Regions from separate parts of the Homo sapiens genome. Here regions 1, 3 and 4 are each linked to region 2. Evidence: promoter capture Hi-C in 16 types of primary human blood cells and fetal thymus (Javierre and others, 2016). All regions are on one chromosome and are shown on one strand. Each heading gives the region's core, a stretch centred on a gene start or on the middle of the fragment in contact. The rest is flanking DNA. Distances are from core to core; before and after follow the strand shown.

Evidence for each region. The method cuts DNA at HindIII sites, captures the fragments that hold promoters and counts their contacts. A CHiCAGO score of 5 or more calls a contact.
Region 1: the fragment with the promoter of KRT6A here is called in contact with the fragment with the promoter of KRT18 in region 2 in 3 of 17 cell types (erythroblasts, M1 macrophages and M0 macrophages); the score reaches 6.9 in erythroblasts.
Region 3: a contact is called between the fragment with the promoter of KRT73 here and the fragment with the promoter of KRT18 in region 2, in 7 of 17 cell types (M1 macrophages, naive CD4 T cells, M0 macrophages and 4 more). The highest score is 8.9, in M1 macrophages.
Region 4: a contact is called between a fragment that was not itself captured here and the fragment with the promoter of KRT18 in region 2, in 2 of 17 cell types (M2 macrophages and M0 macrophages). The highest score is 5.7, in M2 macrophages.

Annotation. Positions count from the first base shown.
Region 1 is chr12:52,491,994-52,494,693 of GRCh38, reverse strand. KRT6A (keratin 6A) reads left to right here and starts at 1,437. Exons shown (of 9, transcript NM_005554.4): 1 at 1,437-2,045. The coding sequence starts at 1,506. The HindIII fragment of the contact is 6,361 bases long and covers 1-2,700 here.
Region 2 is chr12:52,947,752-52,950,534 of GRCh38, reverse strand. KRT18 (keratin 18) reads right to left here and starts at 1,417. Exons shown (of 7, transcript NM_000224.3): 1 at 945-1,417; 2 at 125-207. The coding sequence starts at 1,361. It also overlaps a transcript of KRT8 not described here. RefSeq lists silencers at 374-388, 492-510, 734-757, 1,419-1,468, 1,509-1,588 and 2 more, enhancers at 545-644, 246-900, 1-1,011, 835-1,428, 1,429-2,022 and 1 more, promoters at 1,388-1,449, 1,659-1,741, 1,819-1,829, 1,750-1,829 and a cis regulatory region at 1,659-1,741. The HindIII fragment of the contact is 10,122 bases long and covers 1-2,783 here.
Region 3 is chr12:52,616,846-52,619,821 of GRCh38, reverse strand. KRT73 (keratin 73) reads left to right here and starts at 1,263. Exons shown (of 9, transcript NM_175068.3): 1 at 1,263-1,744. The coding sequence starts at 1,298. The HindIII fragment of the contact is 4,368 bases long and covers 1-2,566 here.
Region 4 is chr12:52,443,507-52,446,553 of GRCh38, reverse strand. No RefSeq gene overlaps it. Among named protein-coding and RNA genes, the nearest start is that of KRT6B, 7.1 kb to the left of the region's middle. The HindIII fragment of the contact is 234 bases long and covers 1,617-1,850 here.

The sequences.
Region 1 (2,700 bases), core at 188-2,687, 460 kb after region 2:
GTCTTGAGAAGGTATCTCGTTCTTGCCAGACGCTGAGTTAGCACCTCCTTTAGACAGGGAACACCCTGTTCTCCTGGATGCTGTGTCCCCCCCTCCAAATGTTGGAGAAATGGGACTGCTTTTAAAATAGTAACAAGAGCTTTCCTGAGGCTCTTCTTAGCATGGGAGTTTGTTCTTCCTCCTGCGGTTGCTCATTTATCCATAGGTTCTCACAGAACAATATTGCCCAGGATTGCTCTCCATTCTCCTCATGCACAGTGCTTAATGCATGGACTGGAGAAGTGAAGCTCATTCCTCTGTAAACCAAGCACACTCACCTTTGTCAGCCTGCCCACCCTCCCAGAAGGTGTATATGGATTTGAGATTTCAAGCACTGAGATCAGAAATTAAAATGTGGAATTGACATGTTACATCATCACACTTGTAAGGGCACAATTTTATGATTCACAGCTTCCATATGCCCCTTGACTTTCCCTACACACCCAATTAAACTGTCTGACTCTTGATTCTTAAGAAATGTCAAAATCTGTGGGAATAAAAATCCAGTGAATTCCTTAATGATTTTTATATCACTCATTTTCCGTTGTTTAAATTAAGCTCTATGTAAATGCTCCAAAACAGCAGGGAGAAGGTGTCTATAAATTTCAACTGGAAAGGCAGATTTACATGAGACTAAGCTCAATAGGAAAGCAAGCACTGGAGAGAGAGGTGCAGATATGGAAAGAAACTCCTGGCAGAAGTCAGGTCTCTGAGCACCCTGGGCAATGTCTGCTCCCTTCATTTTAGGTAAACGGCATGTGGGCAGGTGATCACACAGTACACAGAACAAATGTTGCTCCTACAGTGTAAAGACTCAACTCCTCTGTCCCTCTTGCCTGACAAAGGAGGGTTAGATCCCCAAAGCAGACCCCGTTCCTATGTCCAGGACACAAGGGAGGACAGCCAGGAGCTCCAGAAGAACTGGTCCAAATGCAGTGGAAAAAACACAACAGGCTACTTCTTGCTCAGGCCATCGGGCAAATGCCCATACGCCCTCAGGAAGGATCCCACTCAGAGGGTGAGGCTGGTGCAAGTGGAGTAGAAAACCTGTGTGGGAAGGGGGCACACAGGGAGTGTCTGATGAAGAAGAAGGAGGGGACAATTATCACAGATCAGCTCCTTGTCTCCTTTGTTTGAGGACATGACTAACTCATGACTTCAGTGAATGTATACCCGGGCTTATTGTGTTAGGATCAAGTCAAGGCTGGAAGGCAGGAGAATTTCTCTATGACTAAAGGAAGCCAAAAAGCAATCTTCATATTTCATACCTTTCTAGAAACTGGGTGTGATCTCACTGTTGGTAAAGCCCAGCCCTTCCCAACCTGCAAGCTCACCTTCCAGGACTGGGCCCAGCCCATGCTCTCCATATATAAGCTGCTGCCCCGAGCCTGATTCCTAGTCCTGCTTCTCTTCCCTCTCTCCTCCAGCCTCTCACACTCTCCTCAGCTCTCTCATCTCCTGGAACCATGGCCAGCACATCCACCACCATCAGGAGCCACAGCAGCAGCCGCCGGGGTTTCAGTGCCAACTCAGCCAGGCTCCCTGGGGTCAGCCGCTCTGGCTTCAGCAGCGTCTCCGTGTCCCGCTCCAGGGGCAGTGGTGGCCTGGGTGGTGCATGTGGAGGAGCTGGCTTTGGCAGCCGCAGTCTGTATGGCCTGGGGGGCTCCAAGAGGATCTCCATTGGAGGGGGCAGCTGTGCCATCAGTGGCGGCTATGGCAGCAGAGCCGGAGGCAGCTATGGCTTTGGTGGCGCCGGGAGTGGATTTGGTTTCGGTGGTGGAGCCGGCATTGGCTTTGGTCTGGGTGGTGGAGCCGGCCTTGCTGGTGGCTTTGGGGGCCCTGGCTTCCCTGTGTGCCCCCCTGGAGGCATCCAAGAGGTCACCGTCAACCAGAGTCTCCTGACTCCCCTCAACCTGCAAATCGATCCCACCATCCAGCGGGTGCGGGCTGAGGAGCGTGAACAGATCAAGACCCTCAACAACAAGTTTGCCTCCTTCATCGACAAGGTGAGCCAGTGCCATGCCCTCCATGGGGCACTTCAGGGTCCCCAGACCAGAGGAGCAACACCTTCCTGCCAGGGAGACCTAGGAGGGAGGGAGAAGAGGACTCAGCCCAGCTCTGCAGAGAGTGCAGATGGCTGCTGGTGCCCAGCAAGCAGCAGGGATGGGCATCACTCCCCCATGGGATCTCTGGAGTGGCCCTCACTCCTGCCTAGGGAGAACCATAACTTTTCATAACCCTGAAGCACAGATGAGGCCATCAGAGAATGGAGTAGGTTAACTCTTCCCTTTGAAGCGTCAAAGAAAATGCCAGGAGTACACGGGCTGGTAAATTACACTCTGGGGTCTGGATAAGAGGAAAAAATATTGGAAACAAAAGAAAGGATATTTTGGCTAGATTAAGAAAAAAAAGACTTAAAACGTTTATACGTTATGTGGAAATGTTAATTAATCCTCAAAACAAAGAATGACCATAACATCAGGATGTTTTAGAGGAGAGACTTGCACAAATGGGAAATAAGACGGGAATCAAATCATTGGGCAACATTTAACATCTCTTCTAACTGAGGTCCTATCAGTAATAAAAACTGTGTAAAATTTATCAGATGAATACTATTTTATAACTATGTTTGTAATTTTGGCTGGGAAAAGAAGGAAAAGA
Region 2 (2,783 bases), core at 168-2,667:
CCCTGACTCTCATCCACCCACACCTAACAGGATCCCACTGTGAGCCCCTAACTGACCCAGCCTGGGGAGCAGATCCTTCTTAGCTCCACCCCTGGACCCCCAGCTCTCTAGCCCCCAAACTTACTTGACTCTAAAGTCATCAGCAGCAAGACGGGCATTGTCAATCTGCAGAACGATGCGGGCATTGTCCACAGTATTTGCGAAGATCTGGAGGGATTGTAGAGAGAGGTTGTTCCATGAATAGAAAGCCAGGGATGGGTGGGGTGAGTGTGTAAAAAGTGTTATGTATCCTAGTGAAAACTTCCTGGTCCCAGGAATAGCCAGAGGCTCTCCCTGGACACCTATCCCTTTTCATCTAGCCCCACCCCATTCCCTCCTTTCCTGGATTCCCAGATCCCAGCACTCTGCCCCTCTTGGGAAGCCTCAGCAGGCTGGCTAGCTGGCTGGCCTGCCTGCCCAGAAGTGAGTCGCTACTAACAAGTCCTCTTCCTGGCCCTCTCCTGGCATTTTTTCCCTAGTGCACCTGGTCACTCTGGGCCCCCTACACCCTGGATTGGCTCCTCCCAAAGGAAGGCCTCTTGTTTACTCCTAGATGACTCAGCCTTAGCCACATCCGCTTAACCCTCCAATAGTCCCCATTCCGCCAGAGCCAGTGTCTCCTCCTCTTTACAGGCCTTTCCTTACCTCCCTCCATGCTGTCCACTTCCTCTGTAAAGCTCTCAACCCTGTCCCCTTCCCCCTCTCTCCTGGGAAAGAGCCCTCCCATGCCTAGCTGCTGCTCTTAGGGACCCTGTGGCTAGGTGCGCGGATGGAAATCCAGGTATGCCCAACCCCCTCCCGGTGGAGTAGGGGTTGGGTGGTTATGGAATGACGGAAAGAGGCAAAGGAGTGTATAATTGGAGGGTCAGACAAGGCTGGGAGTTGAGGTCCCTCCTACCCCTTACCTGAGCCCTCAGGTCCTCGATGATCTTGAAGTAATGGCTCCAGTCTCTGACCTGGGGTCCCTTCTTCTCCAAGTGCTCCCGGATTTTGCTCTCCAGCCTCCGGTTCTCGGTCTCCAGGCTCCTCACTCTGTCCAGGTAAGAGGCCAGGCGGTCGTTCAGGCTTTGCATGGTCTCCTTCTCGTTCTGGATGCCTCCCATTCCTGCCAGACCCCCGGCTATCCCGGTGGCCAGGCCCCCGGACCCCATGCCGCCCCTGAAGCTGGTGGAGCGGGACACGGAGATCCGGGAACCAGAGCCCCCAGCGCCTGCATAGACGCTGGCCGCGCTGCTGACCGGCCGGGCGCCGTAGCTGGGCGCCTGGACAGAGCCCAGGGACCGGTAGTTGGTGGAGAAGGTGGAGCGAGTGGTGAAGCTCATGCTGTCCGGGGAGAGAGAAAGGACAGGACTCAGGCTTTGCGGACGACGGTGGCGGCCTGCGCGAGCCGCGCGACCCGAGTTATATCGCAGAGTGAGGCCCCGCCCCCGCCCCGGAGCCGCTTCGGAAGCCGGAGCCACAGGTGGACGGCTCGGAGCCCGCGCCCTCCGCCCCGGGCCGCTCCGCCCCGGGCCCCACCCCCGCGCCCTCCGCGCAGCCCTGCCAAGCCCCGCTCACCCCCCAGAAACGGGGTGGCCAACCGGGCATGGACACGGACAGCAGGTGTTGTTGGCCCTCGAGGCTGCTTTCAGGGCAGGAAATGACGTTATTATGCTCTTCTCCCCCAGGTGGAGGAGGTGCTGGCGAGTTTGAAATTTGGGAGTCTTGACCGGGCGCAGTGGCTCACGCCTGTAATCTCAGCACTTTGGGAGGCCTAGGTGGGCGGATCACGAGGTCAGGAGATCGAGACCATCCTAGCCAACATGGTGAAACCCCCTCTCTACTAAAATACAAAAAATTAGCCGGACGTGATGGTGCACGCCTGTAGTCTCAGCTACTTGGGAGGCTGAGGAAGGGGAATCGCTTGAACCTGGGAGGCGGAGGTTGCAGTGAGCCGAGATCGCGCCACTGCAGCCTGGCGACAGAGTGAGACTCTGTCTCAAAAAAAAAAAAAAAAAAAAAGAAAAAAGAAATTTGGGGGTCTGGTGGTGTGCGGGTGGAATGGCCTGTGAGTCCCTCTAGCTGTCCTTAACCTGCAGCCCAAATTATCCACTTGTGGAGGGGATCTTGGGGGCATCCTGGAGCCCCAGGAGTCCCGGGGAAGAAAGGCTGGGAGCTGGAGAAGAGGAGGAGAAGCAATGCCCAGCCTCATAGCTGCTTGCTTACACACTCACACCCCAGCTGCACCTGGCTCCCAAACACTCCTCGCCTGCCCACGTTTCCTCACACACACTCACACCCGAATCATACAGAGGTGTGCTCTCAAATGCACACACACATACATTCACTCAGCAAATAGGTGCAGACTCCCCAAAACAAACCCAGTCTCTGAGCCCCCTCCACCACCCTCCCCTCTCCCGACCTCACTCCCAAGGGCCTTGCCTCAGTGGAACACTGTGATTTGGACAGGGAATGCATCCTGACTTCTGCACACCGGTATATCACCTTTCCTGCATCCTTAATTAAACAAATCCTGAGCATTTACAATTCAACCAGTATGCATTCAGCACCTACTGTGAGCCAGGCCCAGTTCTAGGAGCTGGGAGAGAAGGGCGGTGACAAAAGAGACCAAAAATCTCTCACAGAGATGATAATGTGTCCCACATCGCCGGGCACAGTGGCTCATGCCTGTAATCCAAGCACTTTGGGAGGCCGAGGCGGGTGGATCACTTGAGGTCAAGAGTTCGATGCCACTGCACTCCAGC
Region 3 (2,976 bases), core at 14-2,513, 330 kb after region 2:
ATGGATATATTTGGGATTTGGGATTTGGGAAACTCTTGGGTCACATACTTTGGCAATGTCAAGGATCCATGAAATTCAAATGTCTTCCCCTACCTCCCCATCTCCAAAATTGTGAGCTAGGTTTGGTCTTCATAATTCGGGACCCAAGAGCCTAGCACAGTACCTGGGAGAGAGTCAGCCCTCAAGAGAAGTCTGTTAAACGAATGGATAAATGAATGAACAAGTAGATGGCTGGCTGGCTGGTTGGACGGATAGATGGACGAATGAATAAGGCGGGCATAGCTCTGAATGTGGAGTCAGAAGACCAGCCAAGGGAGTCCTCAAGGCTGGGGCCTGTGCTTTTTGGGGGCATTTTCATTCTCTGGGATTCACACAAAGAAAGGACTCACTAAATGTTTGCTAAAGGAATGACATCCTCAATTATCTGAACCTTGGTTTCCCCATTTGTGTAATGTGGATCATCACCATTCCCCTCCATGCAGACTAAGTGGATTAAATGAGCTTCTTGTGTGAGGAGCTCTGTTACACTGTAAAGTGCTGCACCAGTGTCAGCCATCGTGAATGGTGCAATGACCATAATTTCAAGGTCAAGAGTCAGGGTAGTGGGATGGTAAAGGGAAAAAGAAGTCAGTGTGTGCAAAGGAAGGTGAGCAGGGCAGCCCGGCTGGCACAGAGGAGCAGGAGAGCTGCCTGGGAGGGCACAGCAGGGGGCTGGCAGCCAGAGGCTGGTCCTGGATTCCCAGTGTGCTCCTCTCCTATGGCCCTGGCCAGCCATCAAACCTGTCTCCAGGAACTCTGGGAAGCCAGGCAGCAGCAGCCTCTTCTTAACCACATAAAAGCAGCTCAGCCAGGGTCCCTGAAGCAGCCCATCTGATGCTGGCATGGTTGTGAGATTTCTAACAGATGACACTGTCAATTAAAGGTCTCCCCTCTGTACCCCTACAATCCCAGGCCCCACCACTCCCTGGGGAACAGCAATTGAGACTGCGACAAACCTCCCACCTAAGATCTTTCTATGGATAATGTGCCCATGCTAATTACACATGTTCATTAGATAAAACTCAAATTACATGAGCAAGACTTGCAAGACTAGCACTTTGGGAGTTTTCAAGTCATTTACCTGGTGTCTGATTTTGCTGGGAGAAAATGATTTCTTGCTTCCAGGCAAACTGAACCCACAAATTAGGCCCATGGCTCCCTCTTGAGTCCTATAAAGTGGGAGCCCAGGATCACAGGCTGGTGAACTGCATCTCAGCTAAGGGTCAGCATCTTATCCCCACTTTCTGGCCTCCCCACCATGAGCCGCCAATTCACCTACAAGTCGGGAGCTGCTGCCAAGGGGGGCTTCAGCGGCTGCTCCGCTGTGCTCTCAGGGGGCAGCTCATCCTCCTACCGAGCAGGGGGCAAAGGGCTCAGTGGAGGCTTCAGCAGTCGGAGCCTTTACAGCCTGGGGGGTGCCCGGAGCATCTCTTTCAATGTGGCCAGTGGCAGTGGGTGGGCAGGAGGCTATGGATTTGGCCGGGGCCGGGCCAGTGGCTTTGCTGGCAGCATGTTTGGCAGTGTGGCCTTGGGGTCCGTGTGTCCGTCGTTGTGCCCGCCCGGGGGTATCCATCAGGTCACCATCAACAAGAGCCTCCTGGCACCCCTGAACGTGGAGCTGGACCCTGAAATCCAGAAAGTGCGTGCCCAGGAGCGGGAGCAGATCAAGGTGCTGAACAACAAGTTCGCCTCCTTCATTGACAAGGTGGGTCTTTCTGGAGAAAGCTGATCTTGGGCTCCCCTTTTAAGGACTCAGGAGGGAGCCACTGCCCTAATTTGTGGTTCAATTTGCCTGAGAGCAAGAAATCATTTTCTCCCAGCAAAATCAGACACCAGGTAAACAACTTGAAAGCTCCCCAGGTGCTGGGCCCATAAGGCTTGCTCATGCCGTAGAGCCCCTTCCTTCCCCCGCCTTCATTGTCCTTGGGGTGCTCCCTGTCTGAAGCAGACGAAGGCAGGACACCTCCCCAGGATGCAGACATAGCCCAGGGAGGAACTGGACAAAGCCTGGACATCAGAGGCAAGGGACCAGGGTTGGAGGGGTGAGAGGAGCCAGCAGCCTAGCCCAGGAAGGTGTCCAGGAAGCAATGAGAGCGGTCTCTGAGTTGAGAAGTAGCAGAGTGACAGCCTGTGAGACTTAGAAGCTAGGCGAAGGAGATGCCCTTGACAGCCTGGGGCATCTAGACTGCCATGCGACCCAGCTGTTCCTCCTGTGTCCCCTGAAAGCTCAGACTCAGTCCGTAACACACACAGCCTATGAGGCAAGGCAGCTGGAGGTCACGGTGCCCTAGAGCAGTGGTTCTCAAAGGTGGCCCTGGAACCAGCAGCAGCAACGTCACCTGGACGCTTGTTAGAATGCACACTCTCAGGCTCCACCCCAGAGCAACTGAATCAGAGACTCTGCAGCAGGGCCCAGCACCCTGCATTTTAACAAGCTCTCCAGGTGATGCTGATGTACACTCAGGTTTGAGAATCACTGAGGAACAAAGTGGTAGGAAGGTATTGGGAAGCAGAGACTTCCTAAGCTTAGAGGAGCAGGGGAAGCTCACCCGGAGCGACAGTGAGGTAGGGTGGTGAGGCATGAGTAGGAGTTTTCAGATGGAGGTGGGGAAAAGGCAATCTAGGGAGACAGCACGTGCAGCATGGTAGAACTTGTCTGGGGAATGGGAGACCTTCGGTTTACGACATCACTGTATGAGTAAAGAAGGAAGCCAGGAGGGCTGGGCACATTATGAAGAGTGTGATAAGGAATATGGACTTGACCCTGAGGGTGATGTGGAACCACCTGAGGGTTTTAAGCAAGGGAATGATATATTTGTAGGTTGCAACTTGAGAATGCTTGTTCTGCTGCTGGGACAATGCTGTGATTGAGATAGTAGAGATTCAGACATGAAAGCAACTTAGGAGGGCCGGAGACCCCAGATAAGCTGAACATCT
Region 4 (3,047 bases), core at 484-2,983, 500 kb after region 2:
ACTGACCAGTCATCATGGAGGATGAGTCGGGAGCTCCCCCTCCACAGCCTACTCCATCAGTCAACATTATGTGATTCTGTCGGACACTCCGGTGGACAATCACCAACTACTCAGCCCTCACCACTTGGGAATTTTTCCACAAATGGAGTCTTTTATAAAGCATCAGAACAAAAAGGGAAGCTAATTCCTGGAATCTGGATCAGCATAATCTGATAACTAAGATTCATTTATATTTTTTATTTTTCAGCCCCATCATTTGGTGGCTTGACCCCACACTGATCTCTGAGACTCCCTCTCTCCCCGGCTCCCCACCACCAGGGAAATATTGCACTGACCCTGCAGATCAGAAACACTTGGTAAGAAGCAGGTGCTTGCCCTGACTCTATGATTATTAAGACTTTTGCCACCAATGCTTGCTCTGATATAAACTTCTAAAATCCATCATTCAAACTAATAGATACAGTAAAGGAGCATCCTCAAATCTCAGTGTATGGATTTAAAGCCATGCAGTGCCATATGTTTTGGAATGGTTTTGACACAACTCAAAGATACATGGGCTGAACTTAAGAACTTATCCTGGGGCCGGACTTGGTGGCTCACACCTGTTAATCCCAGCACTTTGGGAGGTCGAGGCAGGTGGATCACTTAAGGCCAGGTGTTTGAGACCAGCCTGGTCAACAAGAAGAAACCCCGTCTTTACTAAAAATACAAAAATTAGCTGGGCATGGTGTTATGCACCTGTAATTCCAGCTACTCAGGAGGCTGAGGCACAAGAATCACTTGAGTCTGGGAGGTGGAGGTTGCAGTGAGCCAAGATAATGCCACTGCACTCCAGCCTGGGCAACAGAGCAAGAACTCCATCTAAAAAAAAAAAGAAAAAAAGAACTTATCTTGGGAAAGGCTGGTTAGAATGTTTATGACTGTACACCTAAAAACAGTGACTTTGACTGTCTGTACATTATACCTCAACAACCCTTAGAAAAAGTGAAGTTGTAAAAAAAGATAAAATAAATTCATAAAATTTCTTTATAAAATTAGAGAGTTTGTTTTGAGGTGCTGCTGGCAAAGATGACATGGTCCATGAGACAACATGGTCCACGCTGACAGACGACACTCAGATCAACATGGGGACTGAGCACAGCGGCTCATGACTGTAATCCCAACACTTTGGGAGGCCAAGGCAGGAATCACTTGAGCTTAGGAGTGTGACACCAGCCTGGGCAACATAGCCAGACCCTGTCTGTACAAAAAAACTAAAAAATTAGTTGGGCATGGTGGTGCACACCTGTAGTTTTAGCTACTTAGGAAGCCGAAGCAGGAGGATCACTTGAGCCAAGGTGTCTGAAGTGGCAGTGAGTTATGATTGCAACACTGCACTCCAGCCTGGATGATGAAGGTTAAGGGAGTTCCTCATTTGATGATAGGATGCAAAAACAAAACAAAACAAAACAAAAAACCATGCACATTTTAACTGTAAACTTTCATGATAATTTTGACAAGCAAAAATTGATGGTTGGACGTTCATTCAAATTGACCAGATATCAACATCAGGGTTGTAATTTTCACTTTTAGACGGAAACAGACTCTCTATCTTTTAGGCCATGTTTACACAAGCTTATTCTAGAAACTGGCTAATCAGGTCTTATCCGTGAGCAGAAGAATACAAAGTGAAAGAAAATTCCTGAAGAACAACAATAACTCTTTCAGTTATGGTCATATTTTGCCCATTTGATGCCACAGCAGAGACTCTTTCCCATGCGTCACTACTGTAGTTGAGGTCTGGCCTTCTTCCCATGGTTGTCTGTGGGTGAGCAAACGTCTTGCCACTGAGTAGGTCATTAGCAGAAGCTTTGGAGCGGGAGGAGACTTTGGGGAATTAGTGACCCCCTCCCTTTCTATCATTGCAGTCTAGAGTTTGAAGTCAAAGGCATGGTGGAAGCAGAGCGTAGGAACTGCCACGTTGTTCAAGTCCCAAAAGCTGTTAGGACAACTTCCCAGTGTGCCAGGCAAAGTCATTCTCCCCCCTCAGGTAAAAAGCTCGAGGACAGCAGGCTACTGGCAGGGTCCCTCACTACCCTCAAGTGAAATCCAGATGCTTACCCTCTCTGAGAGGCCAGCTAGATGCCAGCTGGCTTGAGACTTGGAGCAGGCATCCCAGTCTCCTGTGAATAGGGTTGTCCAGACAAAATAGAGGAAGCCCAGTTAAATTTGTTGTGTTTTTTTTTTAGACATAGTCTCATTCTGTCACCCAAGCTAGAGTAGAGTAGTGCAATCATGGCTCCCTGCTGACTGGACTTCGCAGGCTGAAGTGATCCTCTTGCCTCAGCCTCTTGAGTACCTGTGACCACAGGCATGCACCACCATGCCTAGATAATTTCTTCTTTTTTGTAATTTTTGTAGAGTTAGGGTCTCACTATTTGTCCAGGCTGGTTTCAAACTCCTGGGCTCAAGTGATCCTTCCACCTCAACCTCCCAAAGTGCTGGAATTATAGGCATGAACCACTGCACTGAAACCTCAGTTAAAGTTGAACTACAGATAAACAACAAAAATTCATACGTCCTAGTATCCGTGCCTTTCATGTGTTTCTACAGTTTCTCAGGATTCATCCTGTGGGAGGAAGATAACAGCCCCAGCTGGTTCGCCATCTTGCCAGGACAAAATACTAATAGTGATTAATTCTGAGGAGTATGAATTTGGGTAATTGCTATTTTCATTTTCATACTTTTCTGCTACATAAAGATCAACATCCTACTTTTTCCACCATTGAAATGCCATTTTTATTACATGCTGAATTCATACACTTTATCTTCTGTGTCATTGATCTCTTTGTCTGATCACACCACTGTGATTACTAGATCTTTATATTACATGCTGCTTTCTCTATTACTTTAGGGTCAGTCTCTGGTGCCTTATTTTGTCCATTTGGTGAGGTCTTTTCCATGAACATCCTCGATGCTCAAGGATGTGCAATGATGTCTGAACCTGCAGAGAGATTTTGGACTGTGGTTGGGTGCAGAATATCTTGTGGGGGGATATGAACAGGTTA